3 separate regions of the Homo sapiens genome follow, and regions 1 and 2 are each linked to region 3. Evidence: promoter capture Hi-C in 16 types of primary human blood cells and fetal thymus (Javierre and others, 2016). All regions are on one chromosome and are shown on one strand. Each heading gives the region's core, a stretch centred on a gene start or on the middle of the fragment in contact. The rest is flanking DNA. Distances are from core to core; before and after follow the strand shown.

Evidence for each region. The method cuts DNA at HindIII sites, captures the fragments that hold promoters and counts their contacts. A CHiCAGO score of 5 or more calls a contact.
Region 1: a contact is called between a fragment that was not itself captured here and the fragment with the promoter of PDS5B in region 3, in 2 of 17 cell types (naive B cells and total B cells). The highest score is 8.8, in naive B cells.
Region 2: a contact is called between a fragment that was not itself captured here and the fragment with the promoter of PDS5B in region 3, in 1 of 17 cell types (fetal thymus). The highest score is 6.6, in fetal thymus.

Annotation. Positions count from the first base shown.
Region 1 is chr13:35,165,469-35,169,450 of GRCh38, reverse strand. NBEA (neurobeachin) reads right to left here. Exons shown (of 59, transcript NM_001385012.1): 25 at 456-464. Among named protein-coding and RNA genes, the nearest start is that of NBEA, 230 kb to the right of the region's middle. The HindIII fragment of the contact is 3,263 bases long and covers 951-3,982 here.
Region 2 is chr13:34,943,158-34,946,806 of GRCh38, reverse strand. All of the region lies in intron 1 of NBEA (neurobeachin), which reads right to left. Among named protein-coding and RNA genes, the nearest start is that of NBEA, 2.7 kb to the right of the region's middle. RefSeq lists a silencer at 2,897-2,986. The HindIII fragment of the contact is 994 bases long and covers 1,715-2,708 here.
Region 3 is chr13:32,583,708-32,587,894 of GRCh38, reverse strand. It overlaps PDS5B (PDS5 cohesin associated factor B), which reads right to left and starts at 1,443. Exons shown (of 35, transcript NM_015032.4): 1 at 1,302-1,443. It overlaps PDS5B-DT (PDS5B divergent transcript), which reads left to right and starts at 1,450. Exons shown (of 3, transcript XR_001749808.1): 1 at 1,450-1,518; 2 at 1,973-2,091; 3 at 2,326-2,877. RefSeq lists an enhancer at 339-398 and silencers at 629-878, 1,299-1,378, 1,389-1,758. The HindIII fragment of the contact is 4,434 bases long and covers 1-3,596 here.

The DNA.
Region 1 (3,982 bases), core at 1,333-3,832, 2.6 Mb before region 3:
TTTTAGAGTAGAAGGCACTTTCAACACAACAGTCTAAAAGAGAATTTGTATTCCATTTTATATAAAAGTAATTTAAAAAATGAAGTATGTAAGCATCAAAAGATAGGGCTAAAAAATAAAGATCACTCTCATACAATTATTAAATCTTAAAATAATATATTTCATCCAATTTACTTTCCTTAGAACCAATTAAAATCTGATTGTACATATGACTGTAACACCATTGTGTTCAATATGATAGTTTAATCTAGGGATTATTGTGCATAATAAAATAGTAATACATCAATGCATTGGGAAAATAATCCTTTCAATGACTCTTTTAAATATACAAAAGATATGTCTCATGTTAAAGATGATATGAAAACTCAAAATATAACCAAGTCAAAAATTTCATAAATAAGTAAAAATAAAACTTGAAACTGAAAGCTGAAAATTACTACAAAAGTAATACTAACCTTAGAACCCTGGACATGCATTAGACAAAACAGACAACAGACCAAAAAGTACAAGAAAAGGAAATTATTAAATTAAATGAAAATACAATGTAAAATTGAAACACAAAATAATATATTTAAAAATTATATTTGATTATTTTATTAAAAGCAAAATTCTCAGAAGAGATTTTCATTTTATAAATTATACATGATCAAGGTTAAATATCAAATATTTAGACTTCAACTTATTTTTATTGTAGTAACTCTGCCCAAATAATATATATAAGTATAGTTCATATATTAGAAATAATGCATACTCTATTTTACAAAACAAGTATCTTTTCCTATAATTAATGGAACATTTTAATAAATAAGCTAACATAATGCCTCTGCAAAATCCCTACCTCAATTCTGGTTTAGGCAGAAATGACTCAGGGAAATGAACTATTTATACCAACCTCTAGAATTTTCTATAAGGAAATAATGTAATTTGTATTCTCAAATATACAGAAAGCTTCCTATAGTTGAAAATTCTGAGAAGTTAATAAAATAACAAAATATTTGAGAGATTATAACTTATAAACCACTTTTCCATGCTAGAAAATAACTTGATATACTAAATGAGGCCTGAATATGAATAAAGGTAATTAAATAGGTATTATACTAAGTTTAAGATTCTTATTACATTAATAATTATATTCATTATATTCAAATATCAGATAGAATTAGTTTTCACAATAAAAATCATCAACTATTCTTTCTAATTTTTGACAAGTACATGTGAGTATAAATCTTAAAATATGCTATTTTCATGGTACATTGTATAGGAAAACATATAAAAGCATCCTGAGAATAGTAAAGTATGATCAGTCCTATGACATAAACAAAAGAACAGCAAAACCAACAACATTATTCATAATTTTTCCAAATCTATTTATGATACATTCTGATAATAAAAATAAACTAAAATTAAGACTTTGTTATTTTTGGACAGAATAGAAAAAGCAGCTCTTCTTTCTTATAATTATGAAACTATTAGGAGAGCTAGAAATGTCAGTCTCTACTATTTTTCTGGGACAGAGAAAATTAAGCCCTGAATTAAGCTCCATAATATTCAGTGTTCTGGATGGCTGACTAAAGTGGTCAACTTAAAATCACAAAGTGTGCAATTTGTGGTTGATCCATGTTCTTTGCTTTTCTTTTTCTTCTCCAATTTTTCACTTTCATTTATGACCAAGTTAAACAATATATTAGAGAATAAATGAGAGGATTCAATTAACTAGTCACAGAAACATCAACTAAAAAAATCAACAACAACAAAAATAATGCTGCTTTCCCAAAGCAAAGATTGGCCAAACTACATACTAAGAGGTCTATTTTTTTTCCCTGAGTACAGTTAAAACTATTGGTCTAACTCGGAGATCTGAAACTATTTTTGTAATTTATTTTCTATGCTACATATGAATTTAAGTAATCTGGGCAAAACTGAAACTCCCATAAAGTGCTGCTTCTTCAAGAGTACTAAGTTCAAGGTGCTCAAACTATCATTATAAACAATATATATATGTTCTTTTTTTCTTAAGTTTCCATTAAGATATGTACCTTCCAACTAAGATTAAACAGTTCAAAAATTTTCTTCCATGATGATGATACTATAACAGCAATACAAAAATGTTATCTCTAGTATAAATTACTGTACTCATCTAAATTTCCAGGGCAGAAAAGAGACCACTTCTATGTCAATCTCACAGAAACAGCAGACAAAAAATATTTGTTTATGTATTGTCTATTGCTGCTTTTGTACTATCACAGCAGAGTTGACTAGCTGTGACAGATAACAATACTGCCAATGAAACCTAAACTATTTCCCATCTGGCCCCATACACAAAAGTTTGTGAACTACTGCCATAAACCATTATTATTCCTATTTCTTCATAAAATGCACACAAGAATATTCTGAAAAACTATATATATATAAACAAAATTACCAGCTCACTCAAACCTTAGTTTCAAATGTTTCCATCTCTCTTCATATATCTAGGATTAAAATTCTAAAAGCACCTACAAGACAATGTTTCCTTTCAGTAATCTTCACGTTGCCAATGTTTCCTTTTTTCACTTATCCCTTCCAAAATTCTCTTTTGGCTTTTTACACTTTAAATTTAAATATAAAAAGCCCAAATATTCGGTTTAATTTCCCTCATTATTCAACCTCCTCTTTCCCAACTTTTTCCCTCTGCTATGTTACAACTTCTAGCAAGAATATTATACAACCCAGTAATACAAAAACAACATTCATAATAGAAAAACAACATTCAGCAGTCAGCACCAATCATAGTTCTACCAGATACAAAATGGGAGAAAGGTTCGGCTATTTCTCTTAAGGAAGCAATTCATTCTAAAAACATAAAATCAGCTATGTTGTACAACCAGGCATAGGTCCAAACAGTTAATGGGCCAAAATAACAGAAATATAGAAATTGAGAAAATAAACAAAGGTTTCTATAATTGAATGAATTCCCAAGTCTGTTGAGATAGTCTAGGTAATAAATAATTTTAAATTCCAAACTACAGTGGTCAAAATTGAATCGTAATAATTTTGGAAGCCAACCTCAAAGCGTCAGTATCTTTACTGTACAATCATCATAAAACAAATAAGCAAATTTGACTGGTGCAATAGTATGTATGTTATAGTTTACTTCATTACTTTAATATTCTATCTTAATAGTTAAAGATCTTTTGCCTTTAAAATTTGGAAAACTATTTAGTAATGTGAATATTTTAAACCTATACAAATTGAAATAACTTATTGCTAAACTGTTTTTTTTACATAAGAAGCATTTTATGTTCCATGCAAAATTTAAAAACATTCAATATTACATTTCAAAGTGAATTTCAATACAACCTTTTAAAAATTTCTTCATAACAAATGATAATTTATAAAACAAAATGCAATTTATATGATCAAGAAAAATGTCACAAAGAAAATATTGATTTATTCAGTCTTCAATATATAAAACAAAAAACACGTTGGCCGGGAGCAGTGGCTCATGCCTGTAATCCCTGCACTTTGGGAGGTTGAGACAGGCAGATCATTTGAGGTCAGGAGTTTGAAACCAGCCTGGCCAACATAGTGAAACCCCATAACTACTAAAAATACAAAAATTAGCTGGGTGTGGTGGTGCACACCTATAATCCCAGCTACTTGGGAGGCTGAGGCAGAGGAATTGCTTGAACCCAGGAGGCGGAGGTTGCAGTGAGCTGAGATCGCCCTACTCTGCTCCAGCCTGGGTCACAGAATGATACTCTGTCAAAAAAAAAAAAAAAGAAAAGAAAAGAGAAGAAAAAAATGCCCTCTATGTCTCACTATTAGAAAGCATTTTAAAAATCATACACAACTCTCAATTTACCAGAATTTGGTATAAATCACCAGAGGAAAAGAGAGATTAAAGAAAAGGAGTGGTGTATGTATACTTGCACTCTTCACACACCATCAACAATTTATACTGTTCTTCTTAGCTCCATTTCCTTGGTTCAGCTGCTAATTT
Region 2 (3,649 bases), core at 962-3,461, 2.4 Mb before region 3:
GCCAAGATGAGAGAAATTTGGTAAACCACAAATCCCTTCAAAGCATCTTATTAGGCTTCCAGTTCAGCCAACAGCATGCCACTTAGAATGTAAAAAAAAAAAAAAATCAGAGGAAATATCATTTTCTACAACTGGACACACTGATATAACTCACTGTAACTCATGAAAAAAAACTACAAATCCATGAAAAAATTTCATGAAAAAATTTCATGAATTCAGTTATTCATAAAAAATTTGTCTATAATTAAATTCCATAATTATAATCATAGAATTATACTATACACATAAGAAAGCCATTCCAAAAAAATTATGAATTCTTTCACTAAGTAAATATTAATCCTCTATTATAAACATATTTTTCTAGAAATTTATGTTTATAAAAGAAACTTCCATGTTATAAGCAACAATAACACGATACTTACATAGCTTTTACTTCAAATATGGATAAAGCTTATATAAACATATGTTAAGTGTGTTTACAAAAGAAGTAATAGATTAGGTAGTACGCCAGTTTTACAACTGAAAACAATCAACAAAATCTCTTCTCTGTAGTTAAATTCTCTTATATTGCCACTTTAAATAATTCCTCCAGAAGCCAAACTTTGTTAACGATCAGTTTCTTTCATTAGTAGAGCTACAATGCAAAATCCTTGACAATGCACTCTGACTGTAACTTTATTCACAAACTAATTTACCTACCTTCCTAACATTATCCATTCCATATTTCACTGTTTTAAGTCAACTATAACATCATTATACAAAATACATACATCTCTAATAAAAATGACTAATTTTATATCATATCACATTGGTGATTCCTCACCAAACTCCCACAATCCACCTAGTAGTAAAAATAGGTCTCTAGACCTTTGGGAAACAAAGCAGAAAAATTACAGCCACCGCTCTGTTGAAGAAGTCCTACACTTTAGTGCATGCTTAAAACTTCACTCTGCCCAGCTTTTAATTCTTTGGCCAAGGCATGTGAGAAACAGCACCTAAAAACCAAGTATTTATGAGTATCCTTACATAGGAAGAAAAAATAAACAGGAAAAAGAAAGAAAAATATACTGACAAAGGCGACTGAGACAAAGGTATTGTTTAAGGTAGAAACTCCTCTTTTTTTTGAAGTTTCATTAGTTCTCCTTTCTTTTCTGTCATTCAGGGCACAGTAATAGGTATTTCACTATTTCACCTTACATTTTTATTTAATGTGTTAAACTAAAACTGAAAATTTTAAAAAATCATTTTAGATTTAATATTAAAGGTTTCCAAACTCTAACGAGTCACTGAGTGTCCTATATGAATTTTATTGGTTTACTTACTAAATAAATAGAATTAAGTTTGATAATCAGTTTTTTAAATGCCCATGACTTCCACATATTTTTGAGAATCCACTTAAATTTTCATATGACATTTTCATGAGTGTATTGGACAATAAAGCCCTAAATCTACAGTTCAAGAAAATTACACTTCAAATGACTAATTTATACTCCACAATTAATATAATTAACAACTTAGTAATAAACAGCTCCTTTTGTCATTTATTCTTTTCTCCAAAAGTTTCTATTTAAAAATCTATTGCATTCTTTAAATACATACAAAGAAATTTTAAACCTAACTCTTTAAATTCCAAATATCATTGCAGTTACAAAATCTTAGGTAGATTTGGGGATATACTATCTCAGTATTACTTTATTTCTAGTGACTCTAAGCTTAATGGTAAAGTTCTCTAAAATAACGTCTGCATACTGAAACTTCATGTCAGATTTTCATTGCTCTGAAGAGTTAAATTTCTTTTTTATCTCAAGAGAAACATTTCACTTCCTTTCTTAGTCTACCGTATATCTAAAAAACCCCATCTGTTAAGAACTGATTCAGCACACATTGCTACTGCTGCAGAGTCCAAACTGGTTATACATTCAAATCAGTTTCCAGGTTGTGAAAGCTCTACTGCCTCTTACCAGGTTAAAATGTATTAAGTAAGCATAGGAATACTTACTAAAATAGCCTAATATAATCTAACTTAAAAATGATATTGGTTAGATCAAAACTGCAACTAAAAATGTGTTCCTTTAAATTACAGAAATACAGTTACCTGCTAACATACTAACAGTTTGAGATTTATCTTCTTTTAAAAAGAAATGGCAAGTACTGACCTCTTATTTGCAGCTAGTTAAAATTAAAACTCAAGAAAACTGTATTTCTAGTAGTGTTCTGAAAAGAACTTGGTTATATCAACTTAGTGACATTCCCTCAAACTTACACTGACTTTTCATGATGATTTATTTGAAAGGTACAAAAAAGTAAAAAGAGGTGTTTTGTTTTAAACAGCAATGAATATAACAAAGACAGATAATCTCCTTTGACCTGACACACTAGCAAAAGGAAAAAAACAGCTTCAACTTTTCTGTGCATTTACGAGGTTCATAAACCGTAGACATTATCTAATGCATGTCTCAGGACACCACTGATGTAGCTGCAGCTTTCTCTCAGTTTTCCAATAGAGTAAGTAAAAATAATTGCTTAGCTGAAAAATGACTGCATGGGTGTTACAAAGTACCCCTGTAAGCATATTGTTATATTCCTGTGACCCCACACCAAATACAATACTCAACTGATTGCTCTCGATTTATGTCTTGCCTCCCAAAGCCCAACCTTACAGTATGTCAAAGACTAGATCTATTGCAGAGAAAACTGTTTAAAAAGCTTGGCTGCATTTAAAAACAAAACAAAACAAAACAAAACCTCCATTTACAAAGCACTAAATATGAACTACTGTTAATTATCCTCAATGTATGATTCTCCTCTCCTTCTTTCCATTTCTTTCCCTGACATCTTAAACGCTTCTGAGCCTCTCTGTAGATAGCGCAAAACATTAAGTCATACACACTTCTGCAGTAACTCTTTCTTACCATGAAAGGAACCAAAACCTAGGGCTGCGTTTAAAACCTTTCCTTTAGTCTTTACCCACATGCCACACTACTGAAAGTAACCACAGAAATCAACCTGTGTGATTTGGTGTCCTCACACACCTTGTGTGCACAAAAAATGACTAAGAGATCAGTATATTCAGGGCAATATTACAAAGAAGGGACGGCTGCTTCTGAGATGGAGGGGGATGGATACAGACACAACACTCTCCATCATGGCCTTGGAATATTTAAAGACAGATGCAAAACTGCATCATTTTCTGTCTCCTTCGAAAACATCACACCCCAGCTGCTCAAGTTGGAAGCTAATGCGCTTCTCACATTTCAGCAGCACGGGGGAATTTAGGCTCCAGGGGCAAGGCTGTCATCCTCGGAGAGCGACACCAAGGACAATTAAGTGTGAGAAAAAGAACCCCAGAGAACAGGAGGCCTCCTCACCTCCTAACTAAACTCTAAAGTCGACCCAAAACCTTCACCGCGGGTACTGGGTTACTCGCGGTCCTAAAAAGTGAGAAGAAGCGGTGTTAAGTTGGGCACTGCGCTCAGGTGGCAGGAGAGGACCAGAAAGAGGAGAGGAGGGAGGTGGCGTGGCTCTAGCAGCGCGCAGGCAGGTCACCCGCTGGGCAATACCGGCTGAACGCTCTGCGCTCCCAGGGACGCGCGGCGCGTGTGACCCTGGGGGTGAAGGGTGGGAGGGAAAGGCGCTGGGGACGGTGTAT
Region 3 (4,187 bases), core at 194-2,693:
ACCCAACTCTCTCCACACCGCAGACCAACCCTCTAAATTAAGGCTATACCCAAAGTTTTCGAAACTATTTCATCAACAGGGTAGGATCAGTCTGGGCACCACTGCCCATCCATCACCTCTTATTAAAAGTACGAGAAGCACTTTCTTCGACATAAAAAAGGGTTAACCCTCGCTGGGGGAGAGAGGCTGTTGAAGACGCGCGTGGAGTGGGTGGGTAGCTGCTCTACCAACCCTTCCCGGAGCTCGCCCCGTCCGCGGCAAGGAACGCAGCAGCCTGCAGCTCCGAAGGCGAGGGGCGGCGTTTCTGGTTTCAGTCATTCGTCCAAAATAACTGTCGAGCTACTTAAGAGTTAGCTTTCACGTCTCTACCAAAAACCAACAGCAGTAGCAGCAACAACAACAAACAAGGTTTTTCTCCGGACCGAAAACTTTTAAAGTAACATTAAAATAACAGTGTAAAAACAATAACGAGTCACAATTGCACACCATTTTCCCCGCCGTTCCTTCTGAAAGGAAAGCTAGAACCCAGTTGTGGCCTGGGAGGAGTCCCTCCACGCCAGTGCTGGGCTCTTCCTCAACTGGCTGCTCGGGGACCACTCGGGGTGGCGCGGTGAGCGCGATTTCCCTCCGGCGAGCGGCGAGGGACAGTGCAAAAATGTCACGCTCAGCCCGTCCCCTGGCCCGAAGCGGAGGCCAGGCGGCGCGCGGGGACCCGGCGGCGGGGGCGAGAGCGCCCGCGGCCCCGACCCGCGGTCCCCGCCCGCCCCTCGCCCGGAAGGGGGAGAAGCCCGCCCGCGGGAGGATTCAACAGGAGCACCGCGCCGCCCGCCTGCCGCCCGGGAAACAGCCGCCGGCCGGCCGGGGCGCGGGGGGAGGGGCGCGGCGGCGGCGACGGCGGCGGCGGGAGGGCGCGGGCGGCCGGGCGGCCCCGAGACCCCCGCCCGCGCGCAAGGTCACCGCCCGCCGCCGCCGCCGCCCCGGCCGGGATCAGAGCGGCAAGTTTAATTTTCCAGAGGCTGCGGCAGAACCCGCGGCGTGGAGGCGCGCGCCGGCCGCGGGGCCCTCCCCACCCCCACCGCGCAGCCGGCCCGCGCCCCGCGACCCCCGCCCCGGGCCACCGCCAGGCAGCCACCCGCTGCAGCCCCCGATGCCGGGAGGCGAGTCGCGCCTGGCACCCAGGCGGGCGGCGCTTCAGCCCTGCCACACACACGCACACAGCGGCAGTGGCGGCCGCTGAAAAATGGAGCGCCGCAGCCAGAGAAGAGAGACATTTTCTTTCCGTTAACTGAATTGTTTCCTACCTCCGGGTTGCCGACTCGCTACTCCGCTCACTCCGGGGCTCTCCGGGATCCGCCGCCGCCGCCGCATCCAATCGCCTTCTCCCCCCCCCTCCCCTTCCGCAGCCAGCCCTGCCGTTCCTCCTCCTCTCCGCTTCAAAATGGCGCCAAGCGCTCTTCGGCGGCTGCTCCAATCGAACCGCCGCGGACAGCACCCGGGGGCAGGCAGAGCGCGGCATGGGTGCGCAGCGCCCCCTGCCGACCAGACGGCCCCGAGCGCGTCCGCCCTCCGAGCTCCACCCCGCCCCGTCCGCGCGCGCGCACGTCCCTCCTCAGCCCCGCCCCGTCCGCGCGCACGCAACCACACGGGCACGCCGCCGCGGGGCCCGCGAGAAGGGCAGCTGTCAAGGCGTCCACTACTCTTGCGGCTTCCTAGACCTCTACCGACAAAAACCACACCGATTGTTACGTAGCCCTATCTTTTTAGATAAAGGTTGGGAGATTTTTTTAAACCCTGACATTCAGCACAGGTGTTGTGATGGGTAAACAGAATTGGTATTATTAACTACTTTGCTCCTTACTTGTTAACTCTGACCTAGTCGTCTCGGAATGCCATACAAATAGTTTTCCTACACTTTACGTGTTATGTCTTTATTAAATCTCCCCGCTTTCCTAATTTGAGGAATTGTTTATAGGTGGTAGGCTGGCGGAGACAGAGTAATTGAGCCTGTGACGAAGCATTCCATTCCTTTGGCAGAATTGTCCTTATTAGAGGAAGAAATCATCTGGAGACCACAGGGACACATTCCAGGAGGTGGGTCTCCTCCCCTCTTCACCTCTAAGGGATGCCAGTCCCTCCTGCAGCTGTAGAGTGGGTTTAGCCTGGTCACCACAGCAGATCACCTACCTTGCGGGAAGGTTTCCTCCCCAGCCGGGTCCCTGCCAGAGCTGAAGAAGGGACTTCCTCCTCTTTTTACTTTAATACCATCCCTGCTGTAAGGAAGTTTCCCCTGATATGATGTATTTGGTTACTAGAATTTTGTTCCAGGGAGAATTTGTTTCAACAATGAACAAGCAAAGTGTGAATGAATGGATTACAGTAGGATACTTATCAACTGAAACAAAAGAGAGGTAATGCTGATATATAAACTAATGCTACTGTGTTAGAAAAGGTATGTACATCGGTATTCCATCGGACCCGGGCACCTAGAGATACTGAGACCTCTTCATTTCCATTTTTGTGGGATTCGCTGGACAATTCCGCCTCAGTCTCCTCCAGTGCTTGCTAGACCAATATGTTGTGTTACTGTATTCCTGTGTCCAAGATTTTGCCACTGAATACTCCAGGTTCTACCCATTTTATACATTCCTCGATGAAGTCTACTATGAGTTTTTTCTGCCCTCTTTTTAAAATTATCTCAGGAATTTTCTTATTTTACATCGTTGTTCCATCAACATAAATCTTGTATGGGAGAGTAGGATGTCTAGATCTAGAAAAACCTTTCCTCTTTGGTTGTTTTTATTATGTTTTTTACTTTATTTTCTTCAATTCCCAAACCTCCAAAGCCAGGAAGCCAGAAAGTTTCAGAAGAAAGCCAGGATGAAAGCAAGAATTTTTTTTTCTTTTTTCTTTCTTTTTTTTTTTTTTTTTTTTGAGATGGAGTCTTGATCTGTCGCCAAGCTGGAGTGCAGTGGCGCGATCTTGGCTCGCTGCAACCTCCCTCTTGAGTTCACGCAATTCCCCTGCCTCAGCCTCCCAAGCAGCTGGGACTACAGGCACACACCACCACTCTCAGCTAATTTTTTGTAATTCTTAGTAGAGACAGAGTTTCACCATGTTGGCCAGGATGGTCTCGATCTCCTGACCTCGTGATCTGCCTGCCTCAGCCTCCCAAAGTGCTAGGATTACAGGCGTGAGCCACCATGCCCGGCTAAGAGTTTTTGTATAAATTATTCAGTGCTCTTATCCCCATTATTTGACACCTGGAAGCCTCAGTAAATATTTTGTTGGATGTATGAATTGTTTAAGAATGTCACTCTACATCTTGTATATGGCAGTGAGTCCTGAAAGGGCTGAAGGTGTCACGTCAACTTTGTGAGCAGTTTTGCCAGTTTCACCATTAACCCTCTCTCTTATAAAATGATGCCTTGAATTTCAATGAGGCCCGGAATACATATTGCCCACGTTAGGCTGCTAACACCACAGGATTAAGCCCAAGAAAAGAGTGGGCAGAAAGGAGATAGCCTTCAAAATAGCTACATTGTAAGGGTCAATGGGGCAATTACCATTAGGACAGACAGAGGAAAAACCCTAAAGCTTTAATGAGGCATAGTTTCTAACAAAAGGGCATACTTTTATATGACTGCAAGTGGCTTTACAGAAATCAGTAATATAAACCTTCATTTAAAACAATATTGTTTGGGAAAACTAAAATCTAAAGTTGATATTTGAACAAAAATAATCTTCTGTGTTTGGGATTTTTAAAAATAGCCAAGTTGCAATTCATTAGGAGCAACATAACACAACATTGTTTAAGACAGTTTAAGAGTGTGAACCATTCAAAACTCAGTTGTGAATGCTTTCTACACCAAGAAAGAGAAATTATGTGGGAATTATGTCCAAATGCTGGTTTTATACAGAAATGGTTAGGAGAATTGTCTTTGATTATGAATAACCACAAATGTAGTTCCCACCTCTACTAATTTTACTTTGTCACTATAACAAATCATCACAAAGTTGGTGGCTTAAAAGAGCACAAACTTATTGTCTTACTGGAGTGCAGAAGTTTGACAGGTATCTCGCTGGGCTAAAATCAAGGTGTTGTCAGGGCTGTGTGTCTTTCTGGAGGCTCCAAAGGAGAATCCCTTTTCTTACTATTTCCTTCTTCCAGAGGCTGCCCAGATCCCTTG